Regions from separate parts of the Homo sapiens genome. Here all the other regions are linked to region 2. The links are contacts of gene promoters, found by promoter capture Hi-C in human tissues and cell types (Jung and others, 2019). All regions are on one chromosome and are shown on one strand. Each heading gives the region's core, a stretch centred on a gene start or on the middle of the fragment in contact. The rest is flanking DNA. Distances are from core to core; before and after follow the strand shown. Region 1 overlaps LOC107985448 (a long non-coding RNA gene). Region 2 holds the start of MAFB (MAF bZIP transcription factor B). Region 3 has its middle 350 kb from the start of LINC01734. Region 4 has its middle 100 kb from the start of LINC01734. Region 5 has its middle 88 kb from the start of DHX35. Region 6 overlaps DHX35 (DEAH-box helicase 35).

The links. Contacts are between HindIII fragments. The study calls those that stand out against the background at their distance.
Region 1: a fragment that was not itself captured here is called in contact with the fragment with the promoter of MAFB in region 2 in 1 of the 25 tissues and cell types used here (dorsolateral prefrontal cortex).
Region 3: a contact is called between a fragment that was not itself captured here and the fragment with the promoter of MAFB in region 2, in 1 of the 25 tissues and cell types used here (heart left ventricle).
Region 4: a contact is called between a fragment that was not itself captured here and the fragment with the promoter of MAFB in region 2, in 1 of the 25 tissues and cell types used here (dorsolateral prefrontal cortex).
Region 5: a fragment that was not itself captured here is called in contact with the fragment with the promoter of MAFB in region 2 in 1 of the 25 tissues and cell types used here (dorsolateral prefrontal cortex).
Region 6: a fragment that was not itself captured here is called in contact with the fragment with the promoter of MAFB in region 2 in 1 of the 25 tissues and cell types used here (dorsolateral prefrontal cortex).

Annotation. Positions count from the first base shown.
Region 1 is chr20:39,159,345-39,164,566 of GRCh38, reverse strand. All of the region lies in intron 2 of LOC107985448 (a long non-coding RNA gene), which reads right to left. Among named protein-coding and RNA genes, the nearest start is that of LINC01734, 63 kb to the left of the region's middle. The HindIII fragment of the contact is 3,814 bases long and covers 1-3,595 here.
Region 2 is chr20:40,686,776-40,691,531 of GRCh38, reverse strand. MAFB (MAF bZIP transcription factor B) reads left to right here and starts at 2,296. Exons shown (of 1, transcript NM_005461.5): 1 at 2,296-4,756. The coding sequence starts at 2,682. The coding sequence ends at 3,653. RefSeq lists enhancers at 130-1,105, 1,106-2,083 and silencers at 2,034-2,343, 2,364-2,433. The HindIII fragment of the contact is 9,965 bases long and covers 1-4,756 here.
Region 3 is chr20:39,572,154-39,577,238 of GRCh38, reverse strand. No RefSeq gene overlaps it. Among named protein-coding and RNA genes, the nearest start is that of LINC01734, 350 kb to the right of the region's middle. The HindIII fragment of the contact is 4,339 bases long and covers 613-4,951 here.
Region 4 is chr20:39,118,792-39,123,394 of GRCh38, reverse strand. No RefSeq gene overlaps it. Among named protein-coding and RNA genes, the nearest start is that of LINC01734, 100 kb to the left of the region's middle. The HindIII fragment of the contact is 3,681 bases long and covers 1-3,241 here.
Region 5 is chr20:39,048,570-39,053,036 of GRCh38, reverse strand. No RefSeq gene overlaps it. Among named protein-coding and RNA genes, the nearest start is that of DHX35, 88 kb to the right of the region's middle. The HindIII fragment of the contact is 5,314 bases long and covers 1-4,467 here.
Region 6 is chr20:38,964,093-38,969,086 of GRCh38, reverse strand. DHX35 (DEAH-box helicase 35) reads right to left here. Exons shown (of 22, transcript NM_021931.4): 2 at 1-6. Among named protein-coding and RNA genes, the nearest start is that of DHX35, 4.2 kb to the right of the region's middle. The HindIII fragment of the contact is 5,080 bases long and covers 1-4,440 here.

The DNA of each region.
Region 1 (5,222 bases), core at 439-2,938, 1.5 Mb after region 2:
CAGGCTTTACAGGAACCATGGTGTTAGCTTCTGGGGAGACATGAGGAAGCTTATAATCATGGCAGAAAGCAAAGGAGCAGCAGCCACATCACATGGCAAAAGCCAAAGCAAGAGAAAGAGGTGCAAGGGTGTAGGTATCACACACTTTTAAACGACCAGATCTCGTATGAGCTCAGAGCAAGAGCTCATTTATCACGAAAGGGATGACCCAAACTATTCATGAGGGATCCATACCCATGATCCAAACATCTCTCACCAGGCCCCATCTCCAATGTTGGGGATTACCATTCAACATTAGATTTGGTGGGGACACATATTCAAACTATATCACTAGCCTACTCTGGCAAATACTCCATATCAGGGATTGGCAAACAGCCAGATAATACATATTCTAGGCTTTGTGGGCCAGATGCTCTGTTTCATAATCTTCTTCATTTTGTTTACAACTGTTTTAAAATGAGAAAAAGCATTGTTAGCTTGCAGACCTTACAAAATAAGCCACAGGCTGGATTTGGTCTACAGGTTGTAGATTGTGAACCCCAGCCTAAATCATAAGATTGTTGTGAAAATTAAATGAGATGATGAACACATGCATTTTTTAAATGTTAGCTGCTACTAACTTTAACAGTGGTAATGGTTATTATAAACAGTAATATTTACAACTATGCCAGGAACTCCTGTAGGCATTGGTGATTTTGCAATGAACAAATCATTATGAAACTTATATTGGGGAGGGGGTGGTTATCGTTGTTGTTATGGTGACATCAGTCGTGGCGACGATAGCAAAGGTTATAGGATATTGTAAAAGTTTAATCCAATTCATGGGGCCTAAATCCTTCCTTCTGTTATGATTTGGGACAACTGTCATGGCTGGAGCCTGAAAGAAGCATCCTCTCTGCCCAAGTCCCATGGTTTCCAAGGACAAAATCATCTGGCCATTCCATGTAGCCCTTGTACCATAATAATGATCATAATATTTGACCAGCCCAAGTTCTCACTGAACCATGTCCAATGTTAATGTCCTCCCTGCCACATGCAACCCCAAAACAGTGCTCCAAAAGGTCCCTTTAGCTGCAGAGTGGTTAAAGCTGCCTTGCTCACCCATGTGTAGATCCCTGGTCTGGAAGACGTGCATGCCCAAGATTTGCTGGGGTAAAGATAAAGCCCTCCCTAATGTGTATGGCTTTGAGATGTAGCTTCCGAGTTTCTGTAGTAATTTACAACCTATATTTATTGAGAGCCTGTTATATGTTGGAAACTATCCTATATAATTTATTGACTCATTTGGCATTAACCCAAATGAGACTGAGGGTCAGAGAGGTGATAAACCTCGCCCAACACTACTGTTGAGTGTGGCCAAGGCATAAAAGTGATGATCTTGCTGACTCCAAAATCATTGTGTTCTGCCTGCTACACCACACTGCCTTTCTACAGAGGAAGGACTCATCAACTGTACATTGCAGAAACCTGCACCAAAGAGGCAGAGTTGTTTTTTCTACTGCTGTTTAAAAAGAAAAACAAAAAAAACAAAAAAACAAGAAAAAAAAAAAAGGAATGCCCTTGGGATTTTGATGAGGATAGCATTGAATCCACAGACCACCTTGGGCAGTATGAACATTTTTAATAAGTCTTTCAATGTATGAATATGGGATGTCTTTTCATTTATTTGTGTCTTGTTTTATTTCTTTCACTGATGTTTTATAGTTATCAGTGTACAAGTCTTTTACCTCCTTGGTTAAGTCTATTACTTAGTATTTTTTTCTTGCTGATACTATTGTAAATGGGATTATTTTCTTAATTTCCTTTTCAGATAGTTCCTTGTGAGAGTACAGAAATGTAATTGATTTTTTATGTTGATTTTTCACCCTAAAACTTTATTGAATTTGTTTATTACTTCTAACAGGTTTTTTGTGGAATTTTTAGGGTTTTCTACATATAAGATCATGTCATCTATAAACAGAGATAATTTTATTTCTCCCTTTGTGATTTGAATGCCTTTTATTTTTTATTTCTTGCCTAATTGCTCTAGCTAAGATTTCCAGCACTGTCTTGAACAGAAGTAGTAAAGGTGGGTATCTTTGTCTTGTTCTAATCTTAGAGAAAAAGCTTTCAGTTTTTCAGCATTATGTGATGTTAACTGTGGGTTTGTTGTTGTATTAGTCTGTTCTCATGCTGCTACAAAGAACTGCTGAGACTGGGTAATGCATAAAGGAGAGAGATTTAACTGACTCACAGCTCCACATGGCTGGGGAGGCCTCAGGAAACTTACAATCATGGCAGAAAGGGAAACAAACACATCCTTCTTCACATGATGGCAAGAAAGAGACGTGCCCAGCAAAGAGGAAGAAGCCCCTTATAAAATCATCAGATGTCATAAGAACTCACTCACTATCATGAGAATAGCAGCATGGGGGTAACCACCCCAGTGATTCAATTACCTCCCACTGGGTCCCTCCCACAATATGTAGGAATTATGTTAACTACAATTCAAGATGAGATTTGGGTGGGGACACAGACAAACCACATCAGTTGTATATGGCCTTTATTGTTAGAGCAAAATTTTTTTAAATAGAGAATCAAAAAACAATAAAGTCAACAAAACTAAGAGTTCAGTTCTTGAAAAGATAAAAATTGAAAAACCTTTATCTACACTAAGAAAAAAGAGAAAAGACTCAAAATCAGAAGTAAAAGAGGAGCCATTAAAACTGATGCCACAGACATAAAAAGGACTGTAAAAGACTACTATGAACAATTACATGCTAATAAATGGAATAACCTAGAATTCATAAATTTCTAGAAACATATAACCTACCAAGCCTGAATCATTAAAAAATAGAAAACCTAAGAGACCAATAACAAATGAGGACATTGAATCAGTAATCAAAAAATCTCCCAATAGAGAAAACCCAGGACCAGATGGCTTCACTGGTTAATTCAACCAAATATTTAAAGGAGAACTAACACGAATCCTTCTCAAACTCTTCAAAAAAACTGAAGAGGAAGGAACACTTCCAAACTCATTTTACAAGGCCATCATTACCCTGATACCAAAACCAGATGAGAACACTACCAAAAAGAAAATTATAGGCCAATATCCCTGATGAATGTAGATGCAAAAATTCTCAACAAAACACAAGGAAACCAAATGCAACAATACATTAAGTTCATACACCATAACCAAATGGGATTTATCCCAGGGATGGTTCAATATAAGAAAATCAATTAATGTGATATACCACATTAATAAAGAACTAATATGACATGATCACCTCAATAAAGGCAGAAAAAGCTTTTGACTAAATTCAAAATTCATACCCTTAAAATTTTCAACAAAGTAGGTATAAAAGGAATTTGCGCCAACATAATAAAGGCCCTATAAGACAAACCCACAGCTAACATTGCACAATGTTGAAAAACTAAAAACTCTTCCTCTAAGATCAGGAAAAAGACAAGGATACCCACTCTCACCACTTCTATTCAACATAGCATCAGAAGTCCTAGCCAGAGCAATGAGGCAAGAAAAATAAAGGCATCCAAACTTGAATTTAGTCAAAAGCTTTTTCTGAAAGGAAGAAGTAAAATTATACCTGTTTGCAGATGACACAGTCTTATATATAGAAAATCTTACACTAAGCTTCTGGAAAGCAGGGATGTTTGCTTTCTGAAAGCCCACCACCTGTGCAAAGCCTGGGAATGACAGGAGCTCACCCAGCACGGGGCATACAGCCTTCTTGTTAGGACTCTGGTGATGGGGGGAAAGTGGTCATACCTGTGGTGATTTAGAAGGTTGATAACTCATCACTCACTACCAGGTGAATCTGGATAAGCATGTTCTTCCTGTAAATGGCACCACAATCCATCCGCATGCTCAAACTGAAAACTAGGAGTCATTCCTGCTTTCTCCCTAATCCCACCCAATTCATTAACAACTCCTGTCGACCTGAACTCCTGAGCACGCCTGAGATCCAGCCACCTCTCTCCATCTCATCCACCCTCACCAAGCCCTGGCCACCACCATCTCTTCCAGAACAACTGCAGCAGCCTCCTCATCAGTCGTCCTGCTTTTCCTCTTACTTCCCTTCAATCTATTCTCCATGTTGTAGCCATAGCAATCTCTGTAAAATGGAAGTGAAACCATGCTATTCCCCCAAAATACTTTCCATTGCTCCTAACAGAAATCCTGTTGCCCTCTCATCACCTACAAGGTGCGGTGTATGGTCCGATCCCTGCCTTCCCCATCCAGCTTACCTCACACCATTCTATCCCTTTCCCAAACAGTCTATTCCAGCACACTGGTCTCCTCTCAGATTCCATAACACATCAAGCCCTTGCCACCTTGGGGCTTCTGTAGGTACTTGGAATGACCTTTCTTTGTTCTCCCTGGCTAGCTCCTTGGAAGTCCTTGGAGAGGACTTCTCTGACCCCCTATCTAAATAATTATTCACCTCACCTTGAATCTCATCACTATGTTTATTTCCTTCCCAGTACCTGTAACAAGCAAAATATTCTTTTATTTGTTTACTTGTTTATCACCCCTACTAGACTATGTGGCTCCATGAGGATAGGATGTGCATCTGTCCAAATCATTACTGTGTCCCCAGTGTTCAGCACAGTGCCTGACACATGGCAGAAGCTCAATACATATTTGTTGAGTGCATAATCCACAGAAAGAAAACCTCACAGCAGGGTCTGCAAGATCCCCATGCCCATGCTGACCTAGCCTCGACCCATCATGTTCACTGTCCACCTAATCACATGGTCTCAACATGTGGCTTCACTGGGCCACTGTCACTTTGGATACAGCTTTCCCCCCACCATGACTCCTGAGAAAGCTCTGAAGCAAAGAAAGTGTTCTCTGTGGCTTTGTGTCCTCAAGGCCTAGGACAGTGCTCTGCACCTGGCAGGCACACAGGAAAGGTTGATGATGGTGCAAAAACTCTGCTTTGAAACAATATTGCAGACAAGGTGGGAGGGAACAGCAGAATCTCACTGATACCATCTCAAAGTCACATGAAGAATCTTTAGGAAACCAAGGAGAATGCTGGAGAAGCCAGAAGAAAAATAATGTATTGATTTTCCAAAACAGGAAGCAGTCAGATTCAATCCCTTTTTTGACTCTAGACCTTCTCATAAACTGGTCAGTTGGCAAGTAATTTAAAAAGAATGAAGCAATTACCATGATCTGATGTCCATCTCCAGAGAATGTCAGGTGAAATTACTCT
Region 2 (4,756 bases), core at 1,047-3,546:
CCAGTGTCAGGCAGAGCCGAGGGGACGTATGGGCGGGGGTGGAGTGGGTCACAGCTTGGCCTGTCCATCTTGGTGCCCGCGCAGAAGTCCACAGTGGCAGAAACACTCTGGGAGCCACAGGTCTCTTAGGACCCTGAGGGAGGGTGCTACCAGCTCTAGTCCAGTCGGGACCAAGAGAGTCAGGCGTGCTTGTCCCGCCCTGGCCGCCTGAGGCCGGAGCCATACATAGTCTGCACAGATCCGAGACACCCGGTCCCGAGTGATCTGGAAACGAGTGTGCTCTCACTGCGTTCAAACAAGACGAGGACATTTACAAGGTGCGAGTCCCCAACCCCCAGCTACTGGCAGGGGCTGCGCAGCGGCACCGCCCAGGCTCTCTCTCCAGGCGGCCGACTCATTTCTGCGGAGAGCACGCTTCTCGAAGAGGGTTGTAGACGCGCTCTTCCAGCATTTAATTTGCCACCCCACAAGATTGAGTTAAGTTTTAGTTAAAATACACTCATTTTATTAAAAATAGGCGGCCCAATACCACGCCGTACCCCAGCCTCTCCGAGGGCGCAAGAGAATAGAGAGTTTTCAGATTAATTGGAGGCAAATATTTTACCTTCTAACATTTAAAAATAATCTAGGCGCGTCTGCACCGGTGTGGCTCACGCGACCCCTACGCGCGAGGTCAGTCGGGCTGGTCCAGCGCAGACAGCGGCCGGGACTCACTCACCCAGTGCGCGCCTCTCCTGCCTTTCGCTGCGCGCGCCCAAAGCTAGAAAGAAGAAGGTGACGCGGGAGGCGGGTCGGGTCTCCGGGTCCAGCGAATTCGCGATCTATCCGGTTTCGGCGCCTGAGCCGAGGTCTCAGAAAGAACCCGTTAATTCTAGCCATCCTGGATCTGGGTAGGGAGGGTGCGCGGCTCCCAAGCCCAGTCTGGATGCCTAGTGCGGTGTGCTTCGGTCTCCCCGTCTGCCCTCCGGGGAGGTTTCTCACCCGGTGGCCCTGGGCCGCTTCACTGTGGCGCTTCCACTTTTGGCTACCGGCCTTCCTCCGCCCAGGACCTTCCGGCCCAGGGAGCAGCCGACGGGCACCCCCGAACGCTGGGGCACGGAATTTCAACGGGGCGACCAGAGCGGAGCTCGCGGCTCGAGGCTCGCGGCTGAGTACGAAGACGGGACCCGAGGACCTGTACATCGCTCGAGGGGAACCTGTCCTGGGCTCTGGTGCACACATAGTATGCGTTCTGGGCTGGCTTGGGTTGGGCCAGGTAGGGGAGACCTGGCTGGGTACGAGGCGCCGTCCAAGCCTTCCGGCCGTGGGCCGGGCGGTCGCGGCGCCTTTGCGCACAGTGGCCACTTGGGGTCGCACTTTATGCCTGTTTGAGCCTCTCCGCGGCGGGCTGACGCCGGGATCTGCTTAATCGTTACAAAACGTTCAAACAAAAACAGGGCCGGCTCCCCAGCAGTGGAGAGCTACTCGGAGCACCGTCCCGGGCCGGCCTCGGCCCCGAGGCTCCGGGGGCTCAGGATTCCGTGCGTGTGGCGGGGAAGAGGAATTCAGAGCCTTTGGGCTGCTGCTTTTCCCGTCGCCTTCACTGTGAACATTGTGCGGTGGGGTGAACGCGGGGAGCGGCGGGGCCAGTGGAGTCGAACCTCAGGGCTCTGCGACTGCACCCGCCAGGAGGGGCCCTCGCTTGGCCTGAGAAAGGTCCCCTGAGGTTAAGAGTTGGGTCTGAACACAACTCTCGGAGCCTCGAGCCCGCCCTCCCCAACATACAAATACGCGCAGATCTCCAGAAACAGGAACGCACGACACACACGGCCAGAAGCCGCGAGGACACACAGAGCGTCGCCCACTGGGCGGGGGCCGCTTGGGAACAAAGGGCCCAGGAGGCGTTGTCCCGGCGCTCATTCTGAGCCTCCTTGGGGGTGACACGGGATGGGGGTGGGGTGCAAAGGGAACTGAGGGAGGAGAGTGCGCGAGGAGGGGAAAGCGGTGATTTGGCCTAGAGGTGGGGCGCGCACTCCAGGCGAGCGTGCGTGGGCCGGGACCTGCAGGGTACGGGGGTGGGCCCAGGCTGGCCGTCCCACTCCGCTCCAGCGCTCCGCCAGGCCTCCGCCGCTCCGGGGCCGCTCGGGCCGCCAGTCAGCTGACGCGGGGGGCGGGGGAGCTGTCAGGCGCGCCCCGCCCTGCGCCGCTGGGCCGCGGAGGCCGTGCAGCTATTGGCCCGCGCACCGGGCCGCCCGGGCCCCCGCACCCCAGTGACATCAGGAGGCGATAAAAGGCTGCGGCGCCGCCGGATCCAGCACAGCTGCACCGCCGAGCTGCGAGCGGCTGCGAGCGAGAGAGCGTAAGAGCAAGAGAGCTAGAGAGCGAGCAACGGGCACTCGCCCCACGCCTCCCCTCAGCCCCACCGCGCGCTCCGCTTGCCTCTCCACCCCGCCCGACTCTACCCGGCCCGGTCCCTGCGCGGGCACAGCCCAGAGCTCTGGGGCGGTGCAGGCAGCCTCGGGACTCTCCGGCGCGCCGCCGCGTCCCCAGACAAAGGCTTGGCCGGCGGCCCCGGCCCGCTGCGCCCTCGCTCCCCGCCTCCCCAGCTCTTCTCCGCTCTTCCCCCCCGCGCTTGGCTCGGCGCGCTCCGGCCGGCCGCAAAGTTTCCCGGGCGGCAGCGGCGGCTGCGCCTCGCTTCAGCGATGGCCGCGGAGCTGAGCATGGGGCCAGAGCTGCCCACCAGCCCGCTGGCCATGGAGTATGTCAACGACTTCGACCTGCTCAAGTTCGACGTGAAGAAGGAGCCACTGGGGCGCGCGGAGCGTCCGGGCAGGCCCTGCACACGCCTGCAGCCAGCCGGCTCGGTGTCCTCCACACCGCTCAGCACTCCGTGTAGCTCCGTGCCCTCGTCGCCCAGCTTCAGCCCGACCGAACAGAAGACACACCTCGAGGATCTGTACTGGATGGCGAGCAACTACCAGCAGATGAACCCCGAGGCGCTCAACCTGACGCCCGAGGACGCGGTGGAAGCGCTCATCGGCTCGCACCCAGTGCCACAGCCGCTGCAAAGCTTCGACAGCTTTCGCGGCGCTCACCACCACCACCATCACCACCACCCTCACCCGCACCACGCGTACCCGGGCGCCGGCGTGGCCCACGACGAGCTGGGCCCGCACGCTCACCCGCACCATCACCATCATCACCAAGCGTCGCCGCCGCCGTCCAGCGCCGCTAGCCCGGCGCAACAGCTGCCCACTAGCCACCCCGGGCCCGGGCCGCACGCGACGGCCTCGGCGACGGCGGCGGGCGGCAACGGCAGCGTGGAGGACCGCTTCTCCGACGACCAGCTCGTGTCCATGTCCGTGCGCGAGCTGAACCGCCACCTGCGGGGCTTCACCAAGGACGAGGTGATCCGCCTGAAGCAGAAGCGGCGGACCCTGAAGAACCGGGGCTACGCCCAGTCTTGCAGGTATAAACGCGTCCAGCAGAAGCACCACCTGGAGAATGAGAAGACGCAGCTCATTCAGCAGGTGGAGCAGCTTAAGCAGGAGGTGTCCCGGCTGGCCCGCGAGAGAGACGCCTACAAGGTCAAGTGCGAGAAACTCGCCAACTCCGGCTTCAGGGAGGCGGGCTCCACCAGCGACAGCCCCTCCTCTCCCGAGTTCTTTCTGTGAGTCGTGGCCGGTCCTGGCCCCCGCCCTTGCCCCGGCCCGGACTCCCTGTCCCACGTCCCTAGTCCCAGACTACCCCGGACCCTGTCCCTGCCGCGGCCCCAGCCTTGACCTGTTTGACTTGAGCGAGAGGGAGGAAGGGCGCGCGGGCCGCGGGCGACGGGCGGGTGCGCGGGCGGGCAGGGGACCTTGGCTAAGGCGAGAGTAGCGCACGCCAGCGCCGCCTCCTAGACTCGAGCAGAGCCGGAGAGAGAGACGAGAGGGTGGGAGGTCCCGGAGTAACTTCTCTCCAGGCTGAAGGGCGGCGAGGCATAGTCCCGAGAAGTCACCAAGGCCATCTGGAGACTCCTGGCTTTCTGAACTTTGCGCGTTAAGCCGGGACAGCTGCTTTGCTGCCCGGAGAGTAGTCCGCGCCAGGAAGAGAGCAACGAGGAAAGGAGAGGGACTCTGGCGTCCCGGCAGGCGAGAGGCGAGGCTGAGCGAAAGAAGGAAGGACAGACGGACCTGTCTGTCAGAGTTCGGAGAACACTGGCTCTCAGCCCTGAGACACAGGCCTCAGTTAGGACGCTCGGCGCCCAAATCTCATCAGTTTTATTGCCTGCTCGATTATATAGAAAAATACAAAAAATCTGCATTAAAAATATTAATCCTGCATGCTGGACATGTATGGTAATAATTTCTATTTTGTACCATTTTCTTGTTTAACTTTAGCATGTTGTTGATCATGGATCATACTCCCCTTGTTTCTTTGGGTGAGAAGGGATCGCAGTTTGGAAACTCCGGCGGCTGCGTGCGGGGTTTCAGTCCCAGCTGTAGGCTTGTAAATACCCGCCCCGCCAAACCGCATAGAGAACGTGGCAGCAAGCTGAGGGTCTTTGTTTGGGTTTATTATTACGGTATTTTTGTTTGTAAGTTAAAAAGAAAAAAAAAAAGAAAAAGTTCCGGGCATTTTGCATCAGAAAACAACTTTGTCTTGGGGCACACTTGGAAGTTGCATGTTTTCTTTCCTTCCCTTATCCCCATTCGGTCCTCTTTTTCCTCTCTCGCTTTAGTTTTCAACCTTGTTGGTGCTGAGAGAGAGAACCGAGAGGTCCCAGTACAAGGGC
Region 3 (5,085 bases), core at 1,533-4,032, 1.1 Mb after region 2:
CTTGCCTGCCCAGCCCAGAGCTATAAATCAGAATCTGCTTTATTTTTTCTTTATCTACTTAACTGAGGAATAATCTATATATAATAAACCACATCCATTTAAAGTGTAAAATCTGATGAAGTTTGATAGTCATCTATACCCATTAAACCACCATGGCCATCAAAACACGGAAAAGCTCAATCGCTCCCAAAGATCCCTCGCTCCTCTTCACATTCACTCCTTCCCTCTGCCCCAGCCCCAGGAAATGACTAATTTGTTTTGTGTCACTAGAGATTAGCTTACATTTTCTATAAATGGAATCATATAGTATGCTGTCTTTGGGTCTGGCTTCTTTGACTCAGAATAATGCTTCTGAGATTCACCCGTGTTGTTGGGTATGTCAGTAGCTCCTTTCCGTTGCTGAGTAATGGTTCACTGTGTGTGAGTGCTACCTTCTGTTTCTGCATTCACCAGTTTATAGCTGTTTGCATTGTTTCTAGATTTTAACTACTATGAATAAAGCTGCTGCAGATATTCTTTTTTCTTTTTTATTTTTTGAGATGAAGTCTTGCTCTGTTGCCCAGGCTGGAGAGCAGTTGTGCAATCTCAGCTCACTGTAACTTCCGCCTCCTGGATTCCAGTGATTCTCCTGCCTCAGCCTCCAGAGTAGCTGGGACTACAGGTGCCCACCACCATGCCTGGCTAATTTTTGTATTTTTAGTAGAGACGGGGTTTCACTATGTTGGTCAGGCTGGTCTCGAACCCCTGACCTCAAATAATGCGCCCTCTTTGGCCACCCAAAGTGCTAGGATTACAGGCATGAGCCACCGCGCCCAGCCTGAATATTCATAATTGGGTTTTTGTGAGGACATATTTCATTTCTTTTGGGTACACATCTGGGAGTGGGATGGCTGGATCTCATGCTATATATATGTTTAACTATTTAAGAAACTGCCAAACAGTTTTCCAAATACATTCTATATTCCCACTAGTAATATACATGAGGTCAAGTTGAACCACATTCTCAATAATACTTGGTGTTATTGGTGACTTGCTAGTCATTTTCATCTTAGTTATTCCAGTGGTATATGGTGGTACCTGTTTGAGATTTCAGTTTGCATTTTCCCGATGTCTAATGATATTGAGAGAATCTGCATTTTAACAAGATCCCCACATTCTTTATATACACAGTAAAGTTTGCAATGCATCGGTAAAAAGAACTTAAGCAGATGGAGAAGTCTCCACCATCCATCTGCTTAAGTGGATGGTGGAGTTGGTGTAACAGCCAGGAACCATGGTTAAGCTCAGTGATGGGTAATGACCATGCATTTGTAGTAACTCCAAATCCACATGCTTGGGTTCTTTCTATAGCAGCATAACAACAGTCCTGGCATGTGTCAGGCATCTGTAATTTATCATTTCTTAGCCTAGCATTTGCCTTCTTATTTTAGAAGACAGAGACAGTTCAAATAAAAAGAAAAGGAAAACTTCTCAGAAATCTATCTTTGTATACATAATATTTTTAGCTATAGTTTTGACACTTTACTGATTTCTTATTACTGCTGTAACAAATTACCATACAGCAATTTATCTTATATTTCTAGAGGTAAGAAGTCTAAAAATGGGTCTTATGTGGCTAAAGTCAAGGTGTTAGCAGGGTTGCATTCCTTCTGGAGGCTCCAGGGGAAGACCTGTTCTTGGCCTTTTCCAACTTCTAGAGGCTGCCCACATCCCTTGGCTTGTGGCCCCTTTCAGCAATGACAGCACTAGATCTCTGTTTCCTTGTCTGAATCTCCTACTTCCCTCTTTCACTTATAAGGACCCCTGTGATTACACTGGGCCACAGGATAACCTCCCCAACTGTAGATCCTTAAATTCACCATCTATGCCAAGACTCTTTTGCCATGTAAGGTAACATATTCAAAGCTTCCTGATATAAGACATGGACATCTTTGGGGGACCATTATTCTGCTTAACACAGATTCATTTCCATGCAGGCATTTTTTTGAATAATATGACAGGGTTTAAATATATGTTAAGTAAGAATTATTTGCAAATCCTTCCTCCCCTTTTTTTTGGGAGAAAAGCCATTATAATGGGTGGAGAAAAAGCTTGAAGAAGCTGGAGGGAAGGTCAATTAATCCACATGATGATGATGATGATGATAGTGCTGAACATTTATTCAGTTCTTAAGCCAAACAATGTTCTAGGTAATTCATATAAACTCACTTACTTAATCATGAAAAGCACCCCAAGAGACTGTGTGTTAGTGTTATCATCCCCATTATACAGGTTGGAACTGAGGCACAGAGAGATTAAGAAATTCACCCAAGATTATCCAGCTAGGCAATTTCAGAGGCAGGCTTCAAACCCAGGCTTTGTGGCTCAAATGTTCATTTTCTCATGTCCTGACTTACACATAGAGATAACCAAAAGAAGAAAAAAATAGAGGTGAGGAAGATGGAGGAGGTTAGACAGAGAATGGATAGTAGCATGAACAAAAAAACTCAGGAATGAGAATATTTTGGAGGCAAAAAGAGAGAGAGGAGAGCAAAAATTTGGCCAGCTACTGGAGGGTTTGGACTTTAGGAGAAGGCTATTGAGAAGGGAATTTTAGGAACTTTTCCCATGATTAGCAAAACTCCCGCCTTGGTATCCAAAAGGAACCATCACAGTAAAGACCAGTATTGCCTGTTGATGCATATGAAGTTAGTTAGATCTTTGTCTCCTTTTGATTTCTGTCTGGTATTTTCCTGAGGCCAGCCTGGAGGTGAGAGAAAGGAGGCTGAGTTTAACTCAGGGATCTATACTAGTTATTTTCTCTGCTGCTTTTGATTGGTTTCCTGCTTTCCTCCCCCTTTTTAATGCTACATCATGAGCATTTTCCTGTAATAAAAATATTTTTCAGAAATGTGACTTGGATGGCTGCCTAGCATTTGTCATTTGAATGCTCCATAACTGTTTGTGTAAGCGACAGTAATTGTGTAGGGCCAGGATGAATGGCCTCATTGAAGAGCGGAGCTGTCCTTGGGAAATGAGGTGGTGTTTGTACCCCTGTGCCCAGTTGCAAGAGTCCTTCTCAGCCTTGCAGCATGTATTTGGAACAAGGTATTTCCTGAACAAGGTGTTTGAGAAGTAGCTGTTGCCATGTAACAATGACCTAGTGTTCCCTTCATTCTCTGGAAGAAAAAAATAATGGATTTTTTTTGTCACTTGAGGTCATTATATGAATGTTGCATGCAGTGGCGACATCATTGGAACAGGCACACCAACACTCTGCGTGGAAATTTTACATGCTTCAGGTTGTACTGAACTAACTTTCATTAGGAAGGAACTGAATCATGACTTAACTAACTTTCCTAAGGAAGGAAGAGCTATCAAACGGATAGTCTACAAATCAGATACACTCTCAGAAACAAAGTGACTTCATCATCCTTAATATTTTTATTACCATTATTATTCACTCTAATAATAAGTGCACTTACTGAATGTGTGCTATTTGGTAAGCATTGTATTGCATGCTTTAAGCAAATTCTCTCTTTTAATCTTCAAAATAAACAAGCTCATAGGACAAGTATGAGCCATGTTGGGCCTCAAGCTCAGGTCTATTTGATCCCAAATTTCATACCCTTGACCTCCACTCCATGGTCTGAACTGAATGACATCCATACATAACTCATGATGTAACTGAGTTACGTTACCAGAGCTGACTGCTCAGGAGCACTGTGTTACTCCTGTCTGGCAGGTATTCTCCACCTCTTTCCACTGCAGTCCCACCCAAACCCTCACTTTCAGGGGCTGCTTCTTTGCCGTCTGCATCTCCCACTGAGGACCAGAGCCCTCCTTAGAGTGAAACAGTAGTTCATTAAGCCTGCCACCTGAATATTGACTGCTAATCTCTCCAATCCCACAGTGCACTGTTAGATATCAAAGCCTGGATAAGCAAACCTAAGGATCACTCTATTCTCCCAGAGTGGCAGAGAAAACCTTGAAGGGCTAGATCCCAGGCCAAGCCTCCTTAACCTTCCCCATTTTGTATGATGGAGTCCACTGTCCTGGCCCCTGCTGCCTTTAGGTTTTTGTGTACCATGCCAATCACAAACACACACCCCATTAATTCATGTGTGAGTCTGCTAATATGCTCTCTGCCTTGGTGTCTAGAAATGGTTTCAGTGAGGGGGTGAGGTGAGGCAGGCATTGAGAAGGTGAAACATTAGGCGTTCATTATAGGTAATGCTTTAGTAGTGCTCACTTTATTTTCAAGTAAAAATCCTATTACTCATATATTCTCTAGCTGCATGCATTCTGATATTTTTTATATTCAGAATTGACTATAAATTTAGTACTTTATTGCTAAATAAGGTAGCTAATGTTAATTAGGAAGGTTTTAGTCTATTTTATCTGTATCCTAAATAGGATGAGAAAAAAAGTCTAGTATCATTGCACTGGAAGTCGAGAGTGCCAAGATCCTAGAAAAAAGTGGTAATCACTTTTTACTTATTATAATTCATTAAGCTTGTAGGAAATATTTAGATACTTAATTGGCATTTAACAAGATAGCTATAGAGAGTAAATGAGACATTAAATTCTCTTCTTAAATGCCCATTAGGTTTGCTTTAGAAATTAATTGATATCTAATTCATTTGCTATCAACTATTTTATCCTTCGCCAGCTGAGAAGTTCAACATATTAATGATAAATAGAGGGAGGATAAGGGGGAACTTATAGTTGCTAAGCTCCGTGTCAGCCTAATTTAAAAAGCAAAGGTCCTCAGGGCACCTTAATCCTACTAAAGGGACATTGTCACTGGGTTTGGAGGGAGAGGGCTTCTGACCACTTGCACACTAGGAACTGTCCAAGTCCTCAGCTTCAAAGTCCCATACAAAGATGGTGAACAAACAGCCACATAGGGTAACCAGGAAGCCTTTCAAGGAGGAAGAGGTAACATATCTGCACATGCTTAAACTAAACTAAGTATGTGTAAATGGCATCCAGGTGTGATTACAAATAAAATGTAGTAGGCAAGTTGACTGCCTGTAAATACCTGATGGTCAGTCCTCAGAAACATGGAAGCAATATGTTTTGCATTACTATAGACCAGGGTTC
Region 4 (4,603 bases), core at 152-2,651, 1.6 Mb after region 2:
GAATTGGCCAGTCTCAGCCCCACCCTATACCCACTGATCAGAATCTGCATTCCAACCAGATCTCCAGGTCATTAGGGCACATTCAAGTTTGAGAAGCTCTGTCTGCGCATATCTGAGCTTCTCTTTCACCAGAACTGGAGGCATGAAGGAAGCAGGAGGAAATGAATTATCTCCCTGCCTCCCTCCCCTTACACTCGTAGGCTTTCTGAGCTGCCTGGTGAGCCCACACCTTCCTCCCACCTGGTAAGTGTGGGGACCAACTACCGGGACCCCTGAGGGGTCCCTTTGCCTCCCTCTTCATCATCGCTCGACTCAATGATCCCAGGCCTAAGGCGGCCTGAGTGGGAAACCGGCTCACCTCCATAGCTAGCCCACACTCTGCACCAGCCCTGTTTGGCCTGTGGGCTTCTCAGGGGGACCCCTGCCTCCATCTGGAAAGAACATGGAGCGATCCCTCCACCCCACACTTTTGTGTCTTTGTAAAATGTTTAGTGAAAAACTGCCGACTATGTAAATCAGAGATCATTAGAGGTTGGGTTTTTCCTTAAAGAATGGATTCAGCGAAATGCTGTTTTCTCCCTGGCTCTGGGTCTCTATTTAGGGGATTGGAGCTCTGCTTATTTATTTATTTATTTATTCATTAGCTGGGCCCACAGTCAAGGAGAAGAGAGCAGGGCTATTAATCTTTCCTGTCATCCATTCACAGATGTGGAGTTCACACCACAGCAAATGTGAAGTCAGCAGTACACAACCACAAGGTGGAAATTTCAAGAGAAACAAGCTTAGAGGAACAAAAAAAAAAAATAGGAAGGGAATGGGGGTGGGGTGGGGGAGACGGAGATGCAGAAACAGAGCACATTTAAAATACAGTGTCTGAGCTTCCCTGGGCGCTTGTGTGTACTGAGGGTAATCTTGTTCTCAGCATGGAGGTGCCATTGATATGTTAATAATAATTTTCTTTTCTCTTCATCCTAAGGAAATGAAGTTTGCAAACTGATTCTGATGAAGGAGGTCTGACTCCGTGTGTGTGTGTGTGTGTGTGTGTGTGTGTGTGTGTGTTCATAGACTGAGACAGACACACACACACTCCCTTCTCTACCTATTTATGGCATCAACTGAGTAGATTCTGGAAATCTCCATAGAAAGGCAAATAGTTGAAGGCTTTAGGTGCCCCTTTTGGGATTGATGTGATTGCCAGATCCTGGGGTGGAGAGATGTCTCAGCGGCTAAAGAAAAAACCTGGCAAAGTCATAAGCAGCTCTCACACTGAGTCCTAACATGGGGAGAACCCACTCTCCAGCGTCCCTAAACCAGTGCTGGTCAGGGTGCAGTAGATCAGAAAAATCAGCCCTCAAGCCTCCTAGAGCTGCTGTCTTCCTAAGCCTGGTGATCTGCACGACTCCTGATGCATGTGTGCCCAATCCTGCTGTGGAGTCGGGCTGGCTACTCCCCTGCCTCAGTTTCCTTCTTGCTCTGTTTCTGCTTTGGAGGCTGAGGTCCTGATACTGTAGCTTTGTGCTTGTCAGCTCTTTCCCCCACTGGGCCTGGAGAGAATGGGTGGCCAGAGTCCCAAAGTGTACCAGCTTATCTGAAGATTCCAGAAACCCTAGTGCTGTACCCACTGCTCAGGCCAGGCTCACTGTTCATTGATCCTAACCTGGTGCAAACCTGACCTCATCCTTTACTTTGAGCTGCTGCCATTCCAGTGGGGTCCTCTCCCCCTCCTCATCTGCATCTTCTGCCCTCTGGTCTGAGATGCAGAAGTCCTAGCCACGCAGCCCCACCCAGGCATAGCCACATCTCAGATGGGGAAGCCTGAGTCCAGTTCTGCAGGGCGTGCGGTCAGCACAACCCTGAGAAAAAGCAGAGAAAGGCTGCCACTTCAGTGGTTGCTCAAGTCAATAACGTCTCTCATCAGAATGTGAGCTCCTTAGGGCATTGAGACCATGTTTATTCATCTCTGCTCCTTGACACTTAGTGGATTCTCGGTGAACATTTGTTGAATTGTGTTGAGTCCCGGGTCAAAATCAGAGTTGACAAAAAGGCTGGCTACCTGCGAGCAGTGACTAGGTTTGTGCAGAAAGTACTGCGTGAGCTCAAGCTTTCCCTCTGGGTTAAGGAAAGGATGGCAAGTATGCTGGGTGATCAGTGGAGGGCTGTGTTGAGCAGGATTCTGAGGCTGTGTCTGGATTCAATGGGAAGGTTTGGTGATCCCTTAGCAAGTCTGCTCTGAGCACAAGAAGGGGCAGGATGATGCTTGCGCCTCACACTAAGCATTAAAGGGTAGCTGCCCTGAGTCATGGAGCTTTGCCCCAAGTGTGGATTTGCAGGTCCTGTTGGAGCCTGAGAGCAAAAGGCACAGGTTTGATGGGAAAAGGAGGAAGAACCAGACATGGAGCTCAACCCACAACTCAAGGAGCCCTGTCTTAGGTGGGGGCCCCAGTAGGAGGCTGAGTGTGGGCACAGGACACTCTGGGACTGGAACAAGTCTTGAAATGCATAGCACAGGGACCACAAGTTAATGAGGCAAGGCCAGGCTACACCCCCACCATTCTAACCACAACCCATCCCAGCACTCATAGGATGTGGCAAACACACGTGAATCGTCCATCCAGAAAATCCCTGCCTCCAGAAATTCCAGCTCCTTTATTGCCATGTTCATTTCACATCTGTAAAGTAGAAATATTAAAATCCAGTCCTAGAAGGAATTGAGAACACATTCATATCAATAGCACAGTGCCAAGCACAGCCCACCGCTGATGGATGCCACCTTCCTGAATGGCGACGAGATGCCCAACATGCTACCAGCACTCTTCCCAGCCTCTTCTCTCAGCTCCCACCACCCAAAACCCCATGTTCTCTCTTACCTCTGGCCTCTGTTCATGCTTTCCTCTGTTGGCAATCTCTCCCCACACCTTTGCCAAAATTTCTGAACTCACTATTTAGGTCTTGGTATAGACATTGCCTACTCCAGGAAGCCTTCCCTGATCCTACTTCCCACCAAAGCCAAGCACTTACTTCTGTCACAGTATTGTCACGCTACATTGTCATTGCCTATTTATCTGTTCATCTGTTTATGTTTCTCTTTTCCACTAGACAACAGACTGGCAAACTTTTTCTACAACAAGCCAATAGTAAATAGTTTAGGCAGTACGGGCCATAGAGTCTCTGTCACAACTACTCAGTGCTGCCATCATAGTGTTAAAATAGCTATAGACAATATGTAAACAAATGAGCATGGCTGCATTCCAATAAAACTTTATTTACAAAAACAGATGGTGGGTCATATTTGGCCCACAGGAAATAGTTTACCCAACTTTGCACTAAGAGGAAGAGCTTTGCAAAGCAGAAAATGTTTCCTATTCAACCATCCCTTACATAGTACCTAGCACAGAGAAGGTACTTGATACTTAATGAACAAAGGAACAGTGTTAAAAAGGTTGTTTGCAAACCCTGTCATGGCCTGATAGGAATAAATGAACCCATCACATTCCTGAAGTATAGAAGGGCTGCCTAAGCATTATGCCTTAGCCTGAATATGGCTGGGACCACTGCATGTGCTAGAGAGTGTGCTGAGCCTGGAGTGTGCCCAGGGTACAGGCCACATCTCCAAGCAGGACACCCTTCCCTGTTCCTCAATCTTGCCTCTCCCTACCTGTCCAGATCCCTGCCATTCCTGATAGGTGGGCACCAATATTGCTTCCCCTGGTACAATTGCTTCTCTTGGACACCGCTTCTGCCACCACTGAGTATGCCACCTCCTACCCGCTGCCAGCCACAGTCACTGCAGATGTCTAGGGCCACAGGGGTTCAAAGCCCCAAGGTGAAGAATTGTGATTTGGGGGGAAAAAAAAAACCCTCTTCCATGTTTAATTCCCCCAGAAGGGACTCATAGCAATGGTGCTTAGGCCCCAACATCTCGCAATGTTTTATTGGAATAATCAACTCTCCCCAGGGACCAGTCATGAGTCAATGGTGGGGATAGGGGTCATACAGGGAAAAAAAACAGAGACTTCCATCATGGAGTACTCAGAAATGCCCCTCTCTTCAAGGACTGGGATTGTGTTATTTGGATAAGCTCCTTGGCCCAGTTCTCTATTACCCCAAAGGAGCTCACTCTCCTAAGAATCCTCAGTTCCTCATTTCAATAGCCCCTGCTGATTCAGCCCAGCCATCTTTCAGACATTCCTAGATAAATACAAAACTTCACTTGCACACAACATAGGTTTAACCTCAATACCTCAACCTCCAACCCCCTCTGGGTAAATATGGTAGATTCTGTTTTCAGTCTCAATTCTTACTCCACCATACTAAGATTATACATCTCAACTTTTGCCACGTAACTTGCAGTGCTTGCACTGCTCTCCCACTGGGAGAGAAGCTTATGTCTCTACCCCCATGGATGTTTTGCTTGGCCACGTGACTCACACTGGCTGATAGGATGATAGTACGCATGACCAGGCAGAAGCCTCATGTGGGCACAGATGGTTTACTTGCCCTCTGAGCTCCTCCTATTCTCCATGGGAAGCTCATGCTCTGGAGAGCCACTGCTCCAAGGAGAACAAAGCTCTGTGGAACAGATCTGAATCCCACATCCTCCCTG
Region 5 (4,467 bases), core at 895-3,394, 1.6 Mb after region 2:
GCAGATTCTGTGTGCTACGGCACATGCACGTATACGCACACATGCAAGGCACATTTGTGCCCACATATGTGCCATAGCATATGCATGTGTAAATGCCATGTGATGCGGTGCACGCATGTCTATGCACACATGCAAGGCATATTTGTACACATGTGCTGTAGCACATGCATATGTGTGCACACATACCATAAGCAAATGTAGGTTGTAGCATGTGCACGGGCGTGCAAAGACATGTGCAGGCACATTTGAATGTGTGCGACATAGTGTGCACATATGTGTCTGCACATGCCCTGTACAAATGGCATGTGCTGTAGTGCAAGCACACATGCCATACAAGCACCAGGGTTCTGTGGTCCAGACCTGGGGCAAACCATGAGTCCCAGGCCAAACGGCAGCCGAGCCAGGCCTCCCCACAGTCTGTCCTCCCTCCCACTTGCCTCAAGAAACAAAGACAGTTTATCAAGAACTCCCCAGTAAGCGGTTTTTTTAAGACCTTCAGCAGCAGCCGCCGGGCTGAGCTGAATGTCTCACTTTATTAGTGAGTTTGGCCTTGGGTGTCTGGCTGTTTGATCAATCCTGCCGGGGGTCAGTGATATTTCCTCCCAGCCCCCCCGCCCCTGCCCCTGCCCCTCTGCCGCACCTGATGAACAGCTTGCCCCTGGACCGCTGATCACCTATTGATTTTCCAGCCCGAGGCTACATCCGCCGCCAGCTGCCATCTCCAGCCCTGTCACCAGGACCACTTGGTGACTAACTGATCCCCCGGTCCCCTCCCACCCCCACCCCTCACTGCACACCCAGCTCCCCCACTCATGGCCCAACCTGCCCTTCCGGCTTTTTCTGTGCCCAGTTCCTACCCTCTCTTTCAGGGCTCAGTGCTGGGACCCTGGACACCAAAATCAAGTGACTCCCCAGCTAGCTTTGATGCCTGGCTGCATGACCTTGGACAAGTCACTTTAATCTCCTTGTGCCTCAGTTTCCTCATATGTAAAAATGGGGCAATATTGGAAGCTACCCATCATGTATATCAGGCAGCAGTTTCCACAGTGTATTATGGGCACCTCTGGGGTCTCTGAGACCCTTTCAGATGGTCCATAAAATTCAGAATAATGTTGACAATAATACAAACATGTTATTTGTGGGGGTTTTTTGCTCTCAGTGAAAGCTTTTTAAAACTCCCAGTGGAATATTACAGGGGCTACATGACATGTGGTATCTCAAAAACTTGCAGATGCAGATATAAAAATCAAACTGTCTTCTATTAAGGCTGACATTATAGAGATCTGCAAAAATATAAAACAAAGCCACACTTCCTTCTCTTTAAATTTTGTGTGTTGTGAAATATAGTTATTTGTCATAGGAATATATTATTTATGCTCACATGTAGTGTTTATTATTGCTATTTTAAATAAATTATAAATAAATATTATTAAAATTTGTTTTGACTCCTAAAATGGTAATTAGTGATAGATACAACCCACATGAACAAGAGCTTTGAGGGCCTTGATCATTCTTAGGGTGTAAAGGGTTCCTGAAGCCAAAAAGTTTGAGAACTGCTGGTACAAGATGCTAGCACTGTGTCTGGCTCACTGTAAGCACTCAGTAAATTATTATTGCTATGATTTGGAGTTGCTATCATTGGGAGTTAGAGTGATTTCTCCAGTCAAGCTGGGGAGGGGATTTGGGGGTGCAGATTTGGGGAGGTTGCCCCTGATTAGGGACATAAGTGGCACAAAGGTGAGATCCCCCCTGCCGGCTCCTAGCAGCCCCCTCACCTGGCACTCACTGCCAGCTTGGAGTGTCCAAAGCCATGGCCAAGGGAAAGGAGCACGTGGCTGATCTTGGCCCTAGCAGCTGGGATTGGCTGCACCTCGAGATAAACCTCCCTCAAAATTGCTCAGAGGGAGGCAGTTGGTGCAAAGAAGGAAGAGGCTGGAGAAAGAGATGTAACAATAGCTACTCCTCGATTAGCCTTACCATGTGTCAGGCATCATTGTAAGCACTTAAAGTTAAGTCATTTGAGCCCTGCGACAATCTTAGACAGTTGTTTAAAAATGTACATGGGATGATTTTGTTGTAATCAGGTATGGGAAGATGACAGACACAGAGTCAACTGCCTGAAAGGAAGATTGTATTACTTACAGTTCCCAAGAGGAGGGCACAACATTCAGGGCCACCTGAACAAAATGAACAAAAATGCAGAAATGGGGTGACCTGGGACAGTCTGGGCATCCCAATGGCCCCTCAGATTTACCATGGCCCATCTGCTTCTCCTGGCAGGCCCTTGGGTCTGCAAGAGCCCTGATGGTGGAGAGAGGGCTGCGCGGGTGGCCCCCTCCTGAGGGCTGGCTTTTGACCCCTCTCCCGCACCCACCCCAACTCCACTCTGAAGGACCCTGGCAGGCCAGGTCAATAATTAGAACTCCATAAAGGTTTGCTGGTGTTGATTTTTGTCGTTGCTTTTTGAACTGGGCCTGTAAAATGGAGAGGTTCATACCTTCCTTGGTGAAGTGGTCAAGATTTAAAGACTTGGTGAGTACAGTATAGCTTCTTGCAACGTGGACAGAGAAGGGGACACCGTCACGAGAGGTGCGGGGGCTGTTTTCACTCCGATGCGCTCAGACCGGGACTGAGCTGCTGTGGACGTGCCCGGTGGGCAGGCGGTGAGCTCGCACCGGGCAAGACACGGGTCTGACCCCTCCCCGCACTCACCCCCTCCCTGGGCGCTCGCAGGACCCGAAGCAGCGCAAGGGCGTCCTGGCTGCCCAAACGCGGGGCTCCAGCGCCGCCTGCCGGCCGCCGTGTGCAACGCCGACCCGGAAGTCTCGCCGTCTCTGCCTGCGCTGGGGACGCGCGGGACACCCGGTTCCGGGAATCCCGGTGGGGGTCCGACCTTGCTTTGGGCGCAGGGAACGCGGCTCTGCAGGACGGGCTGCCGCCGAGGGCATCGGCAAGCTTCGGGGTGTGGACCGTGCCTGCGCCCGCTGCATCCGTTTTGGGCAAGGCTGTGGCTTTTTGAGCCTCAGTCACTCTTTGCGGAGGACGAACAGGGTGGGAATTCGACTTCTCCCACCGCAGCGTCCCTGCAATCTCGTTCTCGACGACGTCCCAGCCTCCCTTCTAGTCCAGTCCCACCCCCAACATTCCTCCTACCCTACTCGCTGGGCACTTCCCGCAATTCCAAATCCCGGCGTGTGGCTCATCCACGTGAAAACCCTTCAGAGCTCCTGGTTGTCGCATAAAACGTTGCTTTCATATTAAAACGAACATGGATTCTGGGAGGCAGAGGCTGGACGATCCCTTGGGCCCAGGAGTTGAAGGTTACAGTGAGCCATGATCCCCACTGCACTCCAGCCTGGGCAACAGATCGAGATTCTATGTCAGAAAAATAAAAAATACATAAAAAGTAAATAAAACTAACATGGATCAGACAGAATGAAATTGAGAGAATGTGGAGCTGCCCAGCTCAGAGCCACCAAGCCCCTAGGAGTCACAGGGGAAGGAGACTCCCAGAGCTCCTGCAAGCCAGCCAAGAGGGGGCCCATTCTCCCAGGGAAACAGCATTGTCAAGGTGGGCTCCATCTCCAAACCAAGCTCCAGAAGCCAGGTCAGGAATTGGGACAGGGCACAGGAGGGACAGCTTGTCTGTACTCCTGCATGTCTGGGCCTCAGCTGACAGTGACCCAGAAGGCTGGGCCCTGGAAGAGCTGGGCCAGAGGACCCACTTCTCAGATGGCATCATGAACCACAGCCCATGAGTAGCCTCTCCAGCATCCTGGTTATCAGGTAGCTGGCTTGCTCGGGTGGCAGTGTCCCAGCAAGCCAGGCAGGAGCTGCATGGCCTTTCGTGACCCAGCCTCAGAAGTCACACCACATCACTTCACACAACCCTGGGTCAAAACCACTACCAACTTGGCCAGATTCATGAGAGGGACATAGACCCCACCTCTGCATGGGAGGCATGTCAAAGAATCTGTGGGGGGAAAAAAAAAGGCACGGCACCAGTCCATCTATTTTTATTTTTTTTTTTTTTAGACAAGGTCTCGCTGTGTTGACCAGGCTGACATGCAGTGGTACAACTGATCACAGCTCACTGCAGCCTCAAACTCCTGGGCTCAAGTGACTTTTCCGCCTCAACCTCATGAGTAGCTAGGGCTGGAGGCACACATACCACACTCGGCTAATTTTTTAAATTGTTATTTTTTTGTATAGACAGGGCCTATGTTGCCCAGGCTGGTCTCAAACTCCTGGCCTCAAGCCATCCTCTAGCCTCAGCCTTCCAAAGTGCTAGGATTATAGGCATGAGCCACCATGCCCAGCTCCATCTAGAAACTATGGTTTTGTGGCCTAGGGAAGGTGTCACCTGGATAAGGTATCACCTATGTTTCACCTCCAAACTCAGGTGCTCCCTCCAGAAATGGCACTGGTCTCTCCATCCCCACTGGATGAAAGATGGCCAAGAGAGAC
Region 6 (4,994 bases), core at 651-3,150, 1.7 Mb after region 2:
CTGTACCTGCAGCAGAAATGTTTTTTTTTCAGATTCTCTGATACAATGAACAGAAAAAGGTGTTAAGTTTATAAACTTTCAAAGATGAAGATATACAGAAGAAGCAATACTTTTTATCTCAAACTACTCAAAGGTATTCAACCTTAACTTTAGGAAAGAATCCAGAAAAGTGCCTACGAGGAACTAAAAATCTTCCCTAAAAGCTTCACTGCAGTGTCAAAAACAAACAAGACAGGGTTAGGTGCAGTGGCTCACGCCTGTAATCCCAGCACTTTGGGAGGCCGAGGCGGGCGGATTGCCTGAGCTCAGGGGTTAGAGACCAGTCTGGGCAACAAGGTGAAACCCCACCTGTACTAAAATACAAAAAATTAGCCAGGCGTGCATGGCGGTGTGTGTCTGTAGTCCCAGCTACTCGGGAGGCTGAGGCAGGAGAATTGCTTGAATCCAGGAGGCAGGGGTTGCAGTGAGCCAAGATCGGGCCCCTGCACTCCAGCCTGGGCGACAGAGCAAGACTCTGTCTCCAAAAAAAAAGAAAAAAGAAACGAGATGGCAGTCCCACTGGGCTCCAAATTGGCCACTCAGAACTGTGTATTACAGAGCACAGTGTCTTTACTTCTGGCCTCCATGTCCATGTTATTACTGAATTCTTAACAGAAGTGAAAGAAACCCAGTGGGAATTAGCTGAGGTAAAAGGATGAATCTTGTTACTGTAGGATGGCAATAAGGCTCAGAGATGACAGAAACTGGGCACTCAAAGCAGCCATGGCTTTCTCCTTCTCTCATCTTGGCACGTCTTGCAGGTTCCTTCCAGCCCCTTAGGTTGGCTACTGTACAGGAGCTGGAAAGACGGCTGCCGGCAGTGCCAGGGTTCACGCTTACAACTCCTCTACCAATCATTCATCGTGGTCCAGCAAGGACCAGCAAGGATGGACCAAGGGCCCACTCCATGTCACGTACCACTCTAAGCACTAGAAACACTGCAGTGAACAATACAGATGCCAGCCCTACCCTCACGGAGCTCACTTGCTTTTTTAATTCTTCCTCTCAGTGGAAAGTAACTTGGTGCATGAAGTGGTCATAAGTGCTATGGAGAGAAATAAAGACAACGTAAGGGGGACTGGGAGTCCCAGGTATGTGTTGTAATGGGGGGTGGGGGAGGCTCTTTTATACTGGACAGACAGGGACTGACTTCTCCCAGCTTAGGTCCAATCCCCACCCCAATACAATCAACCATGGCCAGTGGAATGGGATGAGGTAAATGACAGTCCCCATTGGAACCATGGAATCGGGAGTGGATAGATGGGAAATGCTATTCTCAGTAACCGCCATGCTGGGCAGATTAAACAAGAGATCTTCACCCCGGCTTCTTGCTAATAACAATGACAAACTGGTGATCATGATGGTGAAGAATAGGGAAGCCATATCCCATCATGAAAACCTGTTGAAGGTTCCATACAGTTTTAGCTCAAACAGAAAAACAACTCAGGAGAAACATAACTTTAAATTTTGTGAGCAGCTTCCATAACTTTTCATGCTGATTTGCTGCTGTAACTCTAGGACAGAACTAGGAGTAATAAGTAAATGACACAGGGTTCAGAATTCAACTCAATGTAAGGAAGATATTTCCAAAAGGTCACACTTTTCAGCACTGGAGTTTGCTGCCTTGTAAATGAATAAAAATCCTCCCTAGATCAAACACATGCTATACAGCCTCCTGCTGGGGCACTACAGTGATAATAACCAATAACCATCATCTCCTAGGTCTTCTGAACTCAGAATCTGTGATGCTAAGTGAAAGCACAGGAGCTTTGTAACAAGAATATTCAGCTCAGTGACTTACTTTTACACTTTTTAGGGTTCTCAGATTGCTTCAACAATCTGATAAAGGCTATGAACTCCCTCTCCTAAAAAACACACCAGAATTTACCAGAATATAAAATTCGGGGGGGTCCGTAGACCCCCTAGAGCTAAGTTTAGAATCACTGCTTTAGATCTCTGACCCTTTTCCATTTACTTCCAGGAACAGAGTTGTGTTTCAGAGGTTCAAGATGGCCAAAAATCAGGTAAGTGGGGCACTGTCATGTTGCTTTTGCCAAAATGTTGACCTTCCTTTCAACAAGACAAAAGATGGAACAGGACCTGGAACAATGCCTGTCCTCAAAGAGACAGGCTTTCTTTCCTTCCCTTCTTGTCACTACATCTTAATAATTCCTTGTAATTGTTACTCAAGAAAACAATGACAAAGAATACCTTATCCTTTTCTGCTGTGTTTTTGTCCTGAATTCCTGCCTTTTCAAATCATGTTTTAAACCTTCATATCCTCTCTGGAATATTTTAACATGTCTTTTGTACTACCGTATTCCTCCCTTGTCTCTAACCTACAGCCCCAATCTATCTCTTCTATTATCAGCTTTTGTTTTTGGAGATGGAGTCTCTGTTGCTCAGGCTGGAGTGCAGTGGCGAGATGCCAGCTCACTGCAACCTCCGCCTTCCAGGTTCAAGCGACTCTCCTGCCTGGGCATCCCGAGTAGCTGGGATTACAGGCACGCACCACCGCACCCAGCTCATTTTGTATTTTTAGTAGAGACAGGGTCACACCATGTTAGCCAGGCTGGTGTCGAACTTCTGACCTCTGGTGATCCACCCACCTCGACCTCCCGAAGTGCTAGGATTATAGGCATGAGCCACCACGCCCAGCTGAGCTCTTTTATAAGAACAGCTATGTCAGTTGATAAACAGTATACCTTCTCCTCATAAAAGACTTCCTTCAACCAAACCAGAACATCAGGGCTGCTTTCCCTCTATAAACACCCCTCTGTGGCTGCCTATGATTGATTTTTCCTTGAGCGTACGCTCTATGCTTAAGGGAGTAACAACTTTATAACTTTTGCAAACTATGAACATCTTCATTTCCCTATCTTAACAAGGCTGATATCCCTAATTCCTCATTCCCTTTAACTTGGTTTTTAAAAATTTTACTGGTGACCCATTAGTGGGTTATGAAATCAATGTAGTATGTCATACCAGCACTTTTTAAATAATGAAATAGAATAGAAAGCATCAGAGCACATTCCAGAAAGCAATACTGTTTATGAACAACTTTTTCTTCAGTTGTGTATGTGTGCTATATCTTACTGTGGGTCAAGTCAAAAAAAGCTTAAAACCTATTGTAAAGTTTTCGTCATGCACATGGTCAACAATCATGAAATATTTATCAAATGAGCAAACGAAAATGGGCAGGCCCTTCGGATCCACGTGTACTTGCAAATTAAGTAAAAGATTTTTGTAGAAAACTCTCAGGCAGGTCATACAAGGCCCTTAAGTCACACTCCTAAGGTAGACACCACAAATGGGTATCTTAAGGTACCCAGACATGCTATTGTTAAAATGTTTTAAATCATTCATTTAAAACAACACATAAAATTTTCCCATTCAGATCTGGATATTAGGCTTCTTAAAAAAAAAATTGGGCAACTCTGAACCCATATGATAACAATTAGGTGGACCTGAGTACAACTCCCTATTTTAGAAAGCATATGTAAGCTCTACTGTAGATCTCCACTGTACATACTATCCAGTGTATGCACACTCTGCCACAGTCCCCACCACTCCCTATTACCTCCAGTAAGCAACTTCACTCACTTAGACTGTCTGAAAGACCTCTGTAATCACAGGCTCAGGCCTACAGGATATGTTCATGATTTGAATGTCTAGCCTTATATCAGCTTCCCTGACTTTCACCTTGCATTTCCCACAACCTACTTCATATCTTGAATTTCCTCACTAAAATAAGAGTATTACTGTCATCACAGAGATACTGTGACTGTTTAATAAGATGTGTAAATGAAAGTGACTAACACAAAGCAACGGCCCAATAACTGTGTACTAAAGCTATTCCCATGTCAACTAATGACAACACAATTTACCTAGACCAGTGGTTCCCAAATTTTGATGCATGCTGGAATTCCTTAGAGACTTTAAAAAACACTGATGCCTGGCTCCTAGGCCTCCAAAGTTCTAATTTATTGGTGTGAGGTGCAAGTGCACATCAGGACTTTTCAGAGCTTCCCAAGTGATTCAACTATAAAGCAAAATTAGAGAATCACTAACCTAGACAGTCACCCAGCCCAGAAATCTGAGTTATTACTGACTTCATCTTCTCCCACATCTTCCTCTAAAATGTCTCTCCAACAGGCACCTCCTCTAAGCTCCCAGGTCAGAATTAAGGTTTTTAACATCCCTCCTGGATTTCACTAGTACCTTCTCTAATTTCCTCCTCCATCCACTCTCTACTCCACTGCCAGTGTTATCTTTCTAAAGTAAACCTGATTTGTTCCTGCTTAAAAACACTGAAGTCAGGCCAGGCCCAGTGGCTCACGCCTGTAATCCCAACACTTTGGGAGGCCGAGGTGGGCAGATCACGGGATCAAAAGATTGAGATCATCCTGGCCACCATGCTGAAACTCCATCTCTACTAAAAATACAAAAATTAGCTAGGTGTGGTGGCACACACCTGTAGTCCCAGCTACTCAGGAGGCTGAGGCAGGAGAATCGCTTGAACCTGGGAGGTGGAAGTTCCAGTGAGCCGAGATTGCGCCACTGCACTCCAGCCTGGGCGGCTGAGCCAGACTCCATCTCAAAAAAAAAAAAGAAAGAAAACAAAAAAACAGTGAAGTCTAAACTTTTTAACTTGTCATGAAGACCTTTCACAATGAGGCCCTTACCTACTTTTCTAGCTTCATCTCCTGTCATACCCCAAAATATACCCTAGCACTTAACACTATCACACTGCTCTGTTATTTTGGCTTTCTGGACATTCTAAAGGCACAAATCCCATTCTGCCTTTGTTCATGCTGCACCCTTTGCTTCGAGTTCCATTTCTCTATGAAACAAAACCTTATTCATCCTTTAATGTTCACTCCAAAAATACCACCTTAATGAAGTATTTCTTATCCATACATTCAACTTTCCCTCCCTCTTCCATACTTCCATAT